Regions from separate parts of the Homo sapiens genome. Here region 2 is linked to region 1. Evidence: promoter capture Hi-C in human tissues and cell types (Jung and others, 2019). All regions are on one chromosome and are shown on one strand. Each heading gives the region's core, a stretch centred on a gene start or on the middle of the fragment in contact. The rest is flanking DNA. Distances are from core to core; before and after follow the strand shown.

Region 1 (7,339 bases), core at 2,995-5,494:
CATGCCCTTGGCGGCCCTCCCAGAACAAAAAGCCCCTCAGGGGAGCTGTGCGGAAGTCAGTCAGGAAATAGCAAAATCTGTGGATGGCTGCAGCTTGAGCCTTAGCCCGGGCAGTTTGGAAGAAGGGAAAAGTGAAGTGGAGATCCTGGTAGGAATTGGGCTTCCGGTTGGGAAAGGCAGGCACGGCTGCCCTGGGGCTCTCTGGCCACATCCAGCACCCAGCTCTGCCTTTCAATCCTGTGCCCATCTCTTCCTCCTCCACGGAGTCCAGCTAGCTGAGTCGGACTTGGTACTCATCTATTAGAATCACAAGAGAGCTGACGGTTTCCCCCACAGACACTGATTTCTCACTCAGAAACACGATAGCAAGGTCTAATCACTTCTGGAAATGATGAAATATCTTCCTCCCTGAAGGAGTAGAGAGATGAAAGGAAGTCCTACCCTAAGGAATGTGTGTGCATGGGCAGGCGGAGGGCTGTCCAGCCTGGGAGCACTAAGGCAGATGCAGATGGCCCATCCGTTCCCTTCACCCCTGCTCACACTCCCATAAATGTCCCTCTCCAATGAGGCTGTTCTCACTGAAACTCCCTCAGACTCAGCCCCTGTCTGCCCACCTATCATCTTCAGGGGGAAGCACACACTGAAACCGGTTTGTCTTTCTTGTTCAGAAAGGAAACATCTTTGCTGAGCTATTTCAAGGAATATGTAACTGCATGCACATCCGCTTCCTCTCTTGACCTCTCGAGAGTGTACATTCTTTCTCCTCCCCACTTTCCCTAAGGAAAACTCATTACGGTGTGAATATTTCTCTGTCTCTATCACTCCCTCCTTTTCCCTACCTTGATTGCCCAACAAGACAGTCTACACAAAAATACTCCCCAGAATGGCAAACGGTGGTCTCTGAGGTGTGAGCAAAGTGAGAAGAGTGGTGTAGTCACACTCACCCCCAGGAGTCTGAGATCAACTTGCACACTCACCCTGACGTGCCCCGGAAGCAAGAAGCTGAGTTGGGACATTGTGCTTCAGTTACCCAGAACTGAAAAATAAGTTTCCCTGACCTGCCCAAGGTCATTCATGGAGTGTCGTAGATGGATCCCCCATGCCCTGTCCCCCTACCACACACAGACAGGCATTGTCCCCTACCCAACAGGCACGGATATGATGGTTTCCAAAGCACTGATCAGGCAAGACTGCAGCTGCTGGAAGAGAGGCTGTGAACTGAATAAAATCAGGTGGTGAACTTGAGGGGGAAACATCCCATATTTGCATAAAGCTCTGAGGCCTGAAATTCATCTCCCTTCCCGTGGTTACTCTGCTTCCCCAACCCCAGAGAGAAGCTGCCCCAATGCCGTAATCACCTTCACCCTAGTTTGGCGTAAGGGGCATCAGGGTGGTGGGAAGGGGAGAAAACACCAAGAGGGACAGTGACCTCTCCAGGGTCACGTGCCAATGCCAGCATCCAAAGATGCCTGCTGCCAGCATTTGAGGACACCGCCCTCTGTATCATCCCAGGCGATGACGAATAAACTGTGTGAGGTGGAAGGGTCAGGGCAGCAGGCAGTTTTCCCTGAGTACAGAGAACAATGGCTCAGAAAGAAAGTAACTTAAAGAAAGATGTGTAGGAATCAACGAGCAAGCGGCTGTGGTCAGAGCAGAAGGTTTAATGAGAGGCCAAGGCCACAGGGGAAGGGGAAGAGGAGACAAGCCTCCAAGTCTTGAGGCAGAGGTGTAAGGATGATAAGGACCAGCACATCTGCTTCAGGACAGCACCTGCCCACGGGCAATTCCTTCTTTTCTTTCCACACTGAGCCGAGACAGAAAATTCTTTGCCAGACAAGATGCAAAAGAAACTGTCTCTTGCCTTTATTTTGCTCACCGTCCCACTTGTCTTCTGCATTTGAGAGCCAAGACTGACCACAGGCTGTTTCTCACACAAGAGGATACTTACTGCACTATCTGAGACATGAGGTGCAAGTGGAAGACAGGGTGGAGGCACCTCAGGGTGACAGAGCCTTATAAAAGGGTCTCCTTTTGGAATCACTCCAATTCCAGCACGCGAGTTTGAGGTACCCACCCTTTGTGGATTTGACTCAATAAAACCTTCCAGGGAGTATCATTTCTCTCAACACCCACAGTATCAAGCAGAAAAAAAAAATCAGCTCTTTTAACATGCCTAGAAATTTCTATCTGCCTTTCTCTCTCTTCAGCAAGGCAGGGGTGATTAATGTGCACAGCAGCGAGGAAGGCGGTTTTCAGGTGGTAAGAATAACAAGCAGGACGCAGAGAAGAGCTCAAGGTGAATGGGTCAGTGTGGGGGCCTGCAGGACTGACTGACAAGCAGTGGTCTGGGGGGTGCTCATGGTGACTAGGGCAGTGCCCACACCATGCAACAGAAATGGAGGCATCTCCCGGGGCAGGGTTTGTTCCCTGAGAGGACTCTTGCACCATGTCCAGCCATCCATCAACATGAGGGGACAGGAAGCCGAGCTAACTCTGCATCCTCTGGGTGTGTCATTCCTAGAGTTCTAAGGGGAGGCTGGGTTTCTGTCATCCCCTTGGCTTTGACTTCCCCAAGGGCTCACTGGGGGGCAAGATGGTGCGTCGGGGCAGCATTCAGCGTGCAACCAGGGACTGCCATAGTTTGAGCTCTTGGCGTAAGTTTTGGTAGGAGGCAGCTCCCACTGTCTTTCGAACGTAAGCAGTGAAAGATGCCCCACCAGGTTTAACACAGGCGAGTACTGTTAACTCAGAGTTCTGCCTACAGGGTTTCAAAGAACGAGTCCTCTAGTCTCAGCAGGAAAGATAAACATCCCACTCCGCAGGATGCAATGAGGAGACACCATCTGTGCTTGGTCAACATGGAATGGAGAAATCTTTATCCCTACTTCCGGCAGGAGGCATCCTTTCTATAAAACCCCAATTCCTAATGTACGAGAACATCTCAGTTGACCCTAAGCCACTTGGTACCGCTTTCAGTAAGGTTCCAACATTGGTCAGTTTCCTATATTGAAGATGACACTCTGATTTGACTCAAAAAACTAAATGCCATTAAGAACCTACACCAAAGTGCCCTCATGCCAGGAAAGCAGAACCCTGGATCCTCATCCACGATTACAGAATTTGTAACATTCTTACACTTGGAACTTCATGCACTCAACCAATTCTTACTCTGCCTTGTAAATCCCCCTACCACCAAAGCATGCATTCCCGGTTCTGAAGAAATGGAGGAGGGGGCACAAGAAGACCCTGATTTATTGCATGCAAAAGGAGCGATGGTGGAAATGACTAGAGGGCCTGGGGAGGTGTGATGATGCCGAGAGTGAAGAGGACAGGGGAAGCAAGCTGAGAGGGTGAGGCCGCGGGGAGACCGGGGCGCGCGGCACGCGGCGCTCTCACCTGTGGATGTTCATCTCCCGTGGAGGGCGGTGGGCCTTGTCGTAGGAGACCTTGGCGAAGACGCCGGCCACGATGACGAAGGCGATCACCCCGCAGGTGATGTAGACGGTGAAGTTGGTCTTGTCCTTCTCCGGGTCGTACTTGTTCTCGGGCCCCGGCGACACCACCTTGGTGCTGGGCGTCTGTACCCACACCGGGCTCTGGTAGTTGGTGCACTGGCGCTGGTCCAGCTTCTCGTGGCGCTTCTTGCAGCAGAAGCGGTAGTAGCAGGTACCGCAGCAGTACAGGTAGCCGCTCTCGCTGTTGTTACACTCGAACTCCTTGTCGTACTGGCCGCTCACGTCGTAGTAGCCCCAGCACGTCTCGTAGGTGACGGCCGCGCTGGCCGCCGCCGCCACAGCCGCCGCGGGCTGCCCCCGCCGGCTTCCCGCCTCCGGGATTCCGGGCGCCCGGGCGGTGCCGTTCAGCTCGCGGCCGCCCCGTGCCAGGGCGCCCCCGGCCCTCCGGCCCCCGACGGCAGCGCCGCCTGCACTCAGGGTCCGGTTGGCGGCGCGGCCGCGGGCTCCGTGGACGCTGGGCAGCAGGTCCAGGGACTCCAGCGAGAGCAGCAGCAGCAGCAGGAGGCGCCGCAGCGCCATGGCGGGGCCGGGCGGGAGGGCGCGGGGAGGCTTCCGCGGCAGGCCGCTCCCCCGGCGGGCCGGGCTCGGAGGACCCGCCGCGCGGGCCGGGCTGGAGGCGCTGAGCGGTCAGCGGCTCCGGGGCGATGGCGCCATCGAGGCGCGGGCGGCAGTGGCGGCGGCGGCGCGCGGTGCGCACGGACCGGCCCGGCGCGGGCTGCTCGGGCTCTCAGGCTGCGCGCCGGCTCCGCGCTCCCCCTGCGGGCTCGGCGCGCCTCCTGGGCAGCCCCATCCCCCGCCGGCGGTGACTGCGGCCCCGCGCGCGGCTCGGCTCAGGCAGGACCCGAAGCGCGGCTCCGGGCGGCGGCGGCGGCGGCGGCGGCGTGGTCCCGTCCGGGCGGGTCCTGCGGGACAAGACGGGGAGCCGGTCACGGGGTGGGGCGACTGGCGCTCCGGGAGCAGGAGGAGAACCGCGGGCAGGCGGGCGGGGAGGGTGCGCGCAGCCCTCGAGGAGAGAGACTCGGAGCCGGGAGGGGCGTAGAGCCCGCTCCCAAGACGGGGTCCCGCGGCCCTGCGCGCCTGGAACCGAGAGCGCACGGGCCGCCCCTCCAGGCGCAGCTCGGCCGCCCGGGTCCCCCAGCCGCCCGGCCCCGCAGCGCGCTCCCGCCGCAGGCTGGCTCCCTGGGACGGAGCCGGTTGAGGCTGGGGTCCGGCGGCGAGCCGGGAGAGCGCGCGGCGGCTGGACCTCACTCACTCACCATGCCCGGCTGCGACTGCAGAGGCGGCGGCGGCGGCGGCGGCGGCGGCGGCGGGGCGAGGCGGGAACGCAGCTGCCGGAGCGAGCGAGCGGAGAGCCGCCGGCTCGCCGCCTGCACTAGTGCCGGAACGTGTGCGAGAGTGAGCGAGGGAGACACACGCACTCACACACCCGCACACACGGGAGCGCCGCGAGGGGAGGGGGGACAGGGGAGGGGAGGGCAGCCGCTCTCCGCCACCCACGTTTGCACGCCCGGGCGCTCAGGGTGCGGGGCGGGGGGGACTCCTTTTCGCTTCTTCCGGATCGCAGCAGTTGAAGCTCCGCGTCACGAAAGCTCCGGACAGCAGTTATTCGACACGGCGAACCCGGCGGGCGAAGAGGGGGCCGGGAGCAGGGCGGAACGTCCGCTCTGCAGCCGGCCCGCGGCAGGGACTGACCTCCCCTGCCATTGCCTTCTCTAGCCTTCGCGACCAGTCCCCACCCTACCGGAGCCCGGGGCAGCGCGCTGCCTGAGCGGGAGTTGGGGTTTCTGCAAGCCTTTGCCTCTCCCTAGTGGTGATACTCGCAGCCAGGAGAAGAGGTCAAACCCATTGCTACAGGTTCCCAAACTGAGTCCAGGGGTCAAGTGGCTTGTCTGAGGCTGTTGGGCGACCCGTGAGCTGAGCCTACACTCTCTTCCCCTTGGTCACTCTTTCCCCAACCCCGTACCCACTACGCATAAAGGCGCTAGACAGCCCCAGGACTGGATGGCAACTCTTTGCTATACTTTTTTTTTTCCCCGCGGAGCCTCGAGGCCATTAGAAAGCTATCTGAACCTCTGAGACTCAGCTTTGTAACCCCTGTGTTGAAATCTCTGTGCTGCAGCTCCTATGGGAGGTGAGGAGGATGGGGGTGCAGGGCGGGGGTGCTTTCCGGGGTAGTTGCGTGTCTGGGTCTGTGGAAAGGAGGCCTGAGTCTAACTTTCACAGCTACGAGGCCATCCCAAAAGAGAATCATAGTACCATCCTTGGCGTGTGTCCTTGGAGGAGGTAGGGGGAACTGAGAACAAAAAGCGATGGCCAAGGCCAAGATTCTGCCTGCGTGACCAGCGTGCTTTGGTTGAAGGCAGGGAACTGAAGGCAGGGAACAGGCTGTCAGAGCGAGGGCGGTAGAGAATTTTCCCTGAGACTTTCTGTTCAGTCCCACTCATGTGTGACCTAAACAAGGGATCCCTATCCAGGAACAGAAGAGTTCCTCTTTTGGGAACCGTGGAATGGATATATTAGAGCTCGAACTCAGACTCCAAGACACAAGAGGGAGATCCTGATATTGACTAGGGGGTGGGGTGGGGGGCGGTGCACAGACTATCCCCGCAGCTCCCCACTTGCTACTGTCTCCATTCCCTCCCTCTTCCTCTGCACTTCCTCCCGTTCCCTTAACTTCTCAGTTGCCACCTTCTTCTTAAAGATTCTGTCCAACAAACATTTGTTTAGTGCCTACTCCCTGCCAGCAGAATGAATAAGAGAGTCCCTTTCCTCAAGGAGGGGGACCTTGTAGACCATTAGGGAGACAGATAAACAAATGATTTCCACATGGCAAGGTTACGTCTCATGATAAAGGCGGGCAGGGTGCTCTGAGAGCAGAAGACAGGCACCCAGCCTAGGCCTGCAAGGGGACAGATGGGGGTCAAATGTAGCTTTCTCAATGAGGTAGAGCAGAATCTTGAAGAATGGATTACGAGTTAATACAGCAAGCAAGAGGGGAAGGAGGCTCCCAGCAGAGGGAACATCCTTAGCAGAACCAGAAAGACAGGAAGTGGTTAAGGTGTGTGAGCAGGGATGCAAGCAGTTTAGCGTGAACCCTGAGGGAGTCTTCCAAATAAGGCTAGCAGGAGGGTATTGAATCCTCCCTTGCAAAGAACTTGAATTTATTCTACAATTGCTGGGGAACTGTTGGTGGGTTTTAATCAGGAGAAGACACTGTCAGTTTTACATGTTTGCTGGATCTCTGAGTCAAATGGAGTAGGGAACACTGGACTGGACGCAGGAAAAGCAATTTGGAAGCTGTCCTGATAATACAGGTAAAAAATGATGAAGGGATGCAGTAGATTACTGGGAGTTGATGCCCACAGTGGAAATAAGCATGGCTGAAAAAGCAGGTTCAGGACAGAGTTAGCAATAGTCGTGTTGTGGTTCCTTTGAGAGAACTAAGTGGAGCTGTCCTGCACAAGAATTGCAAGCTCAGAAGAGAAGATAAGACAGGCATATACATTTGGGAATCATAAGAACATATTTGAAGACAACAGCCTTATATATTTACCTTTACACTCTGTGCAATTTCTAAGCTATTCCCTTCTTTGTCTCTTCCATGAGCCTTCACCATCCCTTCATTATTCCAGAATTTGCTTTTCCATGTCTGAGAGCCCCTTAATGATGGATAGGAGAAATGTGTCCTCCTCACATCAGACTCTAATGATTTGTTCAGCGGCATTAAGTAGGGGAAACTGATTTGGTTTCTCAGACCACCACCACCTATAAATGTATCCTGAACCCCTGTGCTCATAAGTGGTGGCATCAACACTCATGGAAAT
Region 2 (7,339 bases), core at 2,584-5,083, 700 kb before region 1:
GAACATAAGCAAGTTACTTAGGCCTCAATTTTCTCCAGCTGTAAACACTTCCAAGAGTGTCTTTTTCTCCACTTGTCCCCTTTCCCAACTCCCAGAGTTGATGTGAAGATCAAATCAAATGAGCTGATGAGTGTGGCAGTCTCTGAAAGCTATGAAGAACTATATAAGTGTAAAGGATGATAAATATTCACCTTGCCTTGTATTGTTAACACACAATGCCATCTCCAGGAAAAGAGCTGATGTTAGAAAAAAGAAAGTAAAAACCAATCACTCTGTCACGAATGGGTCTTTGGTGCTGTCATAGCAAAAACTGGAATCGGATTTTAATGGTACCTGAGAGCAGCTGCTGGGGTAGAAGACAAATGGCTAAAATTATATATATATTTTTCTCTGGAGCAGAGTTTGAAAAAACAGCTCTATATCAGCGAGCTTCCATTTGGACATTATTTACAAAGAGACGAAAAGATCGTCTGGAGGTATTGTTCCAAAATACACAGGACGTGGGGACACAGAGTTCTGGTTCATCTCTGATTAGGCTGTAAAGGGTGTGGGGGCCTGAGGAGGGAGAGGGCTGATAGGGAAGGACCCAGGTCCACAGACGTATGCGGGGCCCCTCTTTTGCTCAGGGAACCCAGAGACTCTTTCAGATAGGAGGAGTGGGTTCCAAGGGACGGAGTCCACCTTATTTCCACAGACAAACACTTCTGCTTTCTTCCTTTCTGGAAAAGTAATAAATGCTTATCAGAAAAATCTAAACATTTCTGATACACATGATATTAGAAGCAAAGTCCTCCTATAGTCTTAACTCTTCCCCCTGTGGGAGAAAAACACTGTTCAACTATTGGTTTTTTGGTATATATTCCTGCAGATGCCCTTCAGTGTACATAACTCTATTCCTCTATCATCCGTCCATCCACCCACTATCCATCCATCACCCATCTACCCATCACCCATCCATCCATCCATTCATCCATCAATTATCTATCCATCATCACCCATCTACCCATCATCCATCCATCCATCCATCCATCCATCCATCCATCCATGTATCTAACATGCCAACCTCCCTTCTCACTCCTTCTCTTTAGCTATATACTAAAATCCCCAGCTTCCCTTCATATAGATGTAAACATGGGAACAGAATTGAGTCAAGAGTTCATGAGTGTATGTGGAGTGTACAACCTCTCGGTCATTTACTTCTTAACAACAAAATACTCTCTGGGCTTTGACTCTTTGCCCCTCATCTTGAGCTGACCTGCGGTGTGGACAGGAAGGAAGATAGCTCATAGGAACATGTGAGCTATGTGAGAAACACCACCATGGCCAAATACTGGGATACTGCACAATCAGATGTGCACCCAGTAACCTGCACACGTGTCCCACACAGCATTGTGCATGGCAAGTGATCACAGTTCATATCATTTCTGAAATACACAAGCACATACACACCCCATTTCTTGGGTTAGCTGGGGGAGGGGATAAGGAAATGATAAGCATTAGAACCTTCTTTGAACCTTGACTGAAGAATTCTAAGTCTATTACTTATACAGTCTCAGCCTTTTCCAGTTTTAGATCTAGGAACATTATTCATTCTGGGTGGGTTCTTCTCTTTATTTTCAAATTATACATCAAATAGTGGAATAGACTGAGTAGAGTGATATGGAGCAGCTTTCTCGAAGTATGCTCACCTCATCAAAATCACTAGGTTGCCAATGCAACCTAACCCCAGACCTCGGAGTCAGAATTTCAATCTCTCTGGCACATTCTTAGGCATATTAAAATTTGAGAAATACTATTTTGATGACATGACTCCATACCTTTATATAAAAGTCCAACTCTTTTAGTATCAGTTTGCTTTCCTAAAATCAGTCTCTAGAGGCTAAAAGTTTGATAATCTTCCCAAGGATGTTTACTTGTAAACCTAATGGCATCTCTAAATTAAAGAACCCAGCTAGGACCGGGTGCAGTGGCTCACACCTATAATCCTAGCACTTTGGGAGGTCAAAATGAGAGGATTGCTTCAGCCCAGGAGTTCAAGACTAGCCTAGGCAACATAGTGCGACCCTGTCTCTACAAAAAGTTAAAAAATTAGCAGGGCGTGGTGGTACACACCTGCAGTCCTAGCTACTCAGGAGGCTGAGGTGGAAGGATTGCTTGAGGTTAGGAGTTGCAGGCTGTAGTGAGCTGTGATTATGCCACTGAACTCTCCAGCCTGGGTGATGGAGTGAAATCTTACTCTTAGAAAAATTAAATTAAAAAAAAAATCCAGGCAGTACCATGGGGTGGATGTCAGTTGGTACAAATACATCTTTAGGAAGTTGGTTAGCTTGTCTCAGAAAAAAATTCATGGAGAAATTTCCCTTTGGTGGCCCATTCTTTTTTTGTTTTTTTTTTTTTGGAGACAGTCTTGCTCTGTCACCAGGCTGGAGTGCAGTGGCACGGTCTTGGCTCACTGCAACCTCCACCTCCCAGGTTCAAGCAATTCTCCTGCCTCAGTCTCCCGAGTAGCTGGGATTACAGGCGCCCACCACCACACCCGGCTAATTTTTGTATTTTTTAGTAGAGATGGGGTTTCACCATGTTGGCCAGGCTGGTCTCGAACTCATGACCTCATGATCTGCCCGCCTTGGCCTCCCAAAGTGCTGGGATTACAGGTGTGAGGCCCATTCTTTCTTTATCTTCAGCTACCCCCACACCAGGATCAGAGCCCCCATGTTGCCTTGGGTTGTCCTGAAACCCACACCTCACCCTGGTCTGCCTTTCTACTCCATAATTCCCTTCCACCTTCCTAAAATTTCAGGAAGTCCTGTGCTTAGTGGCAGGTAACTGTGTATTTAGAGACTCTCGGACTAGAAGCCATTCACACGAAGGGAAGGCGTTTGCATTATGAAGGACTGTGTTCTTCCCCACTGGCATCTGGTTGGTGAACTGAGGTGGGGGTGCTCAGGGGCAACCCCTTACCCATCCTTGCTTGGTTTGCCAGGGGATCAAGAAGTCACATTCAAGGTTCCCAAGCCACCACTGTTCAGCCCTGCCCTTTCTTCACTTTGGCAGAGAAGCTGAATAAAAATGGACTTTGGGTGGACTGGCAAAGAAAACTGCTGAACCCAATGGCAGGGACTTCCTATGATTTAACTGATGGCCAGCATGGTGATGACGGGAGGGGAGAGGCTCTTGGCGGTGACAGGCAAGCATCTCCAGGCTGCAGGTGGTTGGTGCTTTGTGTGTTGTCTATGCTGTGTACTGCCAAAATGGCCAGCAGGAGAAAGGTGTGCATCTATGATCCTCGGGGTCCCCCAGAACGACCTCAGGCAGTCCCCACCACACACACCTTTTCTTCTCTTGTGGCGCCCGCTCCGTCTCTGGCCTGGCTGTCCCGAGGCTGCAGCTCCAGCACAGTGCGGAAGAGCTTTTCTGAGGTTTGGGTCAGGAAGCCAATCTCTGCGTTCGGGTGGAGGCCATAGAGGTAGGGGGATTCTGGGGGCAGCTCAGCATCGATGTACTGAAAATCAAGGGCAAGCTCACTTAAAAAGAAACCAGGACGTACCTCCCATCTCCCACACCGGCTTGTCCTCTGCAGGGAGTCCATGGGCTAGTATCCCTCCTCCAGGGGACACTGCTCACCATCCCTGGTTGACTTCATCACCCTCTCCACCTATTAGTGCACCTTGACATCATCCATTTTTGTCGGCTGGACCCGTTTCCCAAAACTTCCACATTCATTCTATCATTCTCTTTTTTCTGGGAGGCTTAGATGACTTTATCTATCTCCACACCCAATGCCTCCCACTCCTCCCTGATGACTCTTTTTCCTGCAGACCAGAGGAGGACTTCTCATAGTCTTTCAAAAATACGAATCCCTCCCTAGTGATTTTACGTAAGCTCTTCTAGGATTCCAGACCTTTCCTTCTTTTCTCTCCCCTCCATCTAAATCAGATATGACAAACCTGAACATGTACATGGGATGGCACATGCAAAATAAACAAGTGAATTGGGCTTAGGACGAAGGAGGTGAGATTGGCTGCGAACTGGAGAGTTTGCGCCCCTGGTGAAAGGTATTCAAATAAAAAAAATTTTGAAACTATGTGTCACCCTAGCAGCTCCTTTCTGTGGCCAGTGCTAGTGGCTAGAGTCTGCCATGCCTAATGCCTAAAAATCCTAACCAGCGGCTAAGGCTCAGTTTTATTTTATTTTATTTTATTGTGTGTGTGTGAGACAGGCTCTCACTCTGCTGAAAAAACTAGAGTACAGTAGTGTACAGTAGAGTACACAGCTCACTAAAGCCTCCACCTCCCAGGCTCAAGTGCTTTCCACCTCAGTCTCCCAAGTAGCTGGAAATACAGGTACATGCCACCATGCTCAAGCCGATTTTTTATTTCTATTTTTTGTAGAGATGAGGTCTCACTATGTTGCCTGGGCTGGTCTCTAACTCATCAGCTCAAGTGATCCTCCAGCCTTGACTTTCCAAAGTTCTGGGATTACAGGCGGGAGCCACCGCGCCTGGCTCTGAATGTTTTGAGCGCCTCTTCATGGCTCTTTATACGATGGTGGGAAAATATCCCTCAAGTTCCGTTCCTGATATGATTTTGACGATTCCTTGGTGTTATTAACACCTAGCCTAATAGATTGCCCATTCCTCAAGGGCCGATCTGTATGTTCATTTTTGTATTTCCTCCAGCGTTCTGTGCAGGCCTGGACTCTATGTAGATGCCCTAGAACCATCTATTAACTAACACATTAAAGAGAAGTATAAGAAAGAGAGTGTACCTCAGTCATTTGGAAATGTGCAAATCGATTTCACCCTTGCTGAATAAGAAAAACAGACTTCCTTTGCCTGTTACTTGCTCCAGCCTCCTGTCGAATTATCCCATGGACACTAGGGGACGCTGTTGCACAATTTTCCCGGGAAAAGCCTTTTTGCCTTTGGTGAAGTAGTTAAAAACATTTCCTCTTATTTTCCTTAAAGAGCTTTATTGTTTTAAATCTCCTCTTATAGGTCCAATTTTTCTGGATCAAATGACTTTTACGATTTACCCTTAAGTTTAATGAATTAAAGAAATTTTTTTAAAGCTTGCAGTTAATATTCCTGTGATCAATATTTCCCTTATGTTTTATATTCAAGAGTTTTTCTAGGCATGTTCAAAAGCCTACCAATAAAAACTGCTAAAAAATATCTTTCGGGCCGGGCGCGGTGGCTCACGCCTGTAATCCCAGCACTTTGGGAGGCTGAGGTGGGAGGATCATGAGGTCAGGAGTTCGAGACCAGCCTGACCAACATGATGAAACCCCGTCTCTACTAAAAATACAAAAATTAGCTGGGCGTGGTGACGCACGCCTGTAATCCCAGCTACTCAGGAGGCTGAGGCAGGAGAATCACTTGAACCAGGGAGGCGGAGGTTGCAGTGAGCCGAGATCGCGCTATTCCACTCCAGCCTGGGTGACAGAGTGAGACTCCGTCTTATAAAAAAAAAAAAAAAAAATCTTTTGGAATGTTTTCCATGGAAGGTGAAATAGGCAAAGATGAATACTTTAAACATAGCTGTGGTAATAGTAACATAAAAGACCGAAGTAATAGTAAGAAAACCTCCATGAGGCCGGGCGTGCTGGCTCACACCTGTAATCCCAGCACTTTGGGAGGCCGAGGCAGGTGGATCACCTGAGGTTAGGAGTTCGAGACCAGCTTCGCCAACACGATGAAACCCCGTCTCCACTAAAAAATACAAAAACCGGGTGTGGTGGTGGGGGCCTGTAATCCCAGCTACTCAGGAGGCTGAGGCAGGGAGAATAGCTTGAACCTGGGAGGCGGAGGTTGCAGTGAGCCAAGATCGCACCACTGTATTCCAGCCTGGGTGACAGATCAAGACTCCGTCTCATAAAAGAAAAGAAAAGAAAGCCTTCATGAGAATGCTGACTGTGGCATACGTATGCGGTATGTGCCTGTGTTCATAGCCACCAACACGGAGTGGGAGGGGTGAGTGACCTGAGTGATCTTGGCACAAGACCATGCTCCTCCAGGGATATTTAGAATCACCCACAGAAACTTTACCAAAAGTTGGCTAAGGTCTTGCCTGAAATTTTGCTCCATGAAAAACGGCTTTGTCAGGCCAGGCGCGGCGGCTCACGCCTGTAATCCCAGCACTTTGGGAGGCCCAGGTGGGCGGATCACGAGGTCAGGAGATCAAGACCATCCTGGCTAACAGGGTGAAACCCCGTCTCTACTAAAAAAAATACAAAAATAAAATTAGCCGGGCTTGGTGGCGGGCGCCTGTAGTCCCAGCTACTCGGGAGGCTGAGGCAGGAGAATGGCGTGAACCCGGGAGGCGGAGCTTGCAGTGAGCAGAGATAGCGCCACTGCACTCCAGCCTGGGCGCCAGAGCAAGACTCCATCTCAAAAAAAAAAAAAAAAAAAAAAAAAAAATGGGTTTGTCAACATCCCAAGTGAAAACAACCAAATAACTGTCCCAGATGTTATTTGTAGAAAACAGCAACACACAGAATGACTGAACCAATCATCAAGAATCGAAAGATCTCCAAAGGCTCCATTTGATTATTAATTTGAGGCTAGAAATCCCGTATCTCTCAACTTAAACAGGGCAGGCTTGGGGCATAGGACCAGATTTGACATGAGCTCAGCTGTCTAAGCCCTTTTGCCTCAGCCCCTGCCTGCAGCCCATGGTGATGTCCCAGCAGAGGCTTCCCTGGTGGTGCAGGTCGGCGTGGGAGGAATACCCAGGGCCCTGTGAGCACCCTCACGACATCAGAAGCACAGAGCAGAGTCTCACCTGATGATAACCATTGTAGTCCATGTTGCCTGGGAGTGGGAACCCTGGGGCCAAAGACAGTTCTCCTTCTAACATTTCTGGTCGAATGAATTCCCCCAGGTAGGTTCTGCAGAGTCTTCTGTCCCAGTCATCTGTGATATGGCCTCCATACATGATCTCTCCAAACAGGTAGCGCAAATCATCATAGGGGACCTGAGTGATGGGGGAAAGAAAGAGAGGAAGGAAGAAAGACCTCCACACAGGCGTCGGGGCTGGCCTCCCATCTGGGCAGCACAGAAAGCCACAAGAGAGGGACGCTTCTTGAGATTGAGAGCAATGTCTTATTTTTCTCCATACCCTCAGTGCCCAGCAGGGTTAGGGGTGTTTGGGGAGTTCATTAAAAGCCTGAAGAAGGCCGGGCGCGGTGGCTCACGCCTGTAATTCCAGCACTTTGGGAGGCCGAGGCGGGTGGATCACCTGAGATTGGGAGTTCAAGACCAGCCTGACCAACATGGAGAAACCCCATCGCTACTAAAAATACAAAATTAGCTGGGTGTGGTGGTGCATGCCTGTAATCC

Evidence for each region. The method cuts DNA at HindIII sites, captures the fragments that hold promoters and counts their contacts. A contact is called where the count stands out against the background at its distance.
Region 2: a fragment that was not itself captured here is called in contact with the fragment with the promoter of SHISA6 in region 1 in 2 of the 25 tissues and cell types used here (H1 embryonic stem cells and lymphoblastoid cells).

Annotation. Positions count from the first base shown.
Region 1 is chr17:11,238,118-11,245,456 of GRCh38, reverse strand. SHISA6 (shisa family member 6) reads right to left here and starts at 4,244. Exons shown (of 6, transcript NM_207386.4): 1 at 3,397-4,244. The coding sequence starts at 4,034. RefSeq lists an enhancer at 118-619. The HindIII fragment of the contact is 17,378 bases long and covers 1-7,339 here.
Region 2 is chr17:11,933,515-11,940,853 of GRCh38, reverse strand. DNAH9 (dynein axonemal heavy chain 9) reads right to left here. Exons shown (of 69, transcript NM_001372.4): 65 at 6,783-6,974; 66 at 3,332-3,502. Among named protein-coding and RNA genes, the nearest start is that of ZNF18, 60 kb to the left of the region's middle. The HindIII fragment of the contact is 9,228 bases long and covers 1-7,339 here.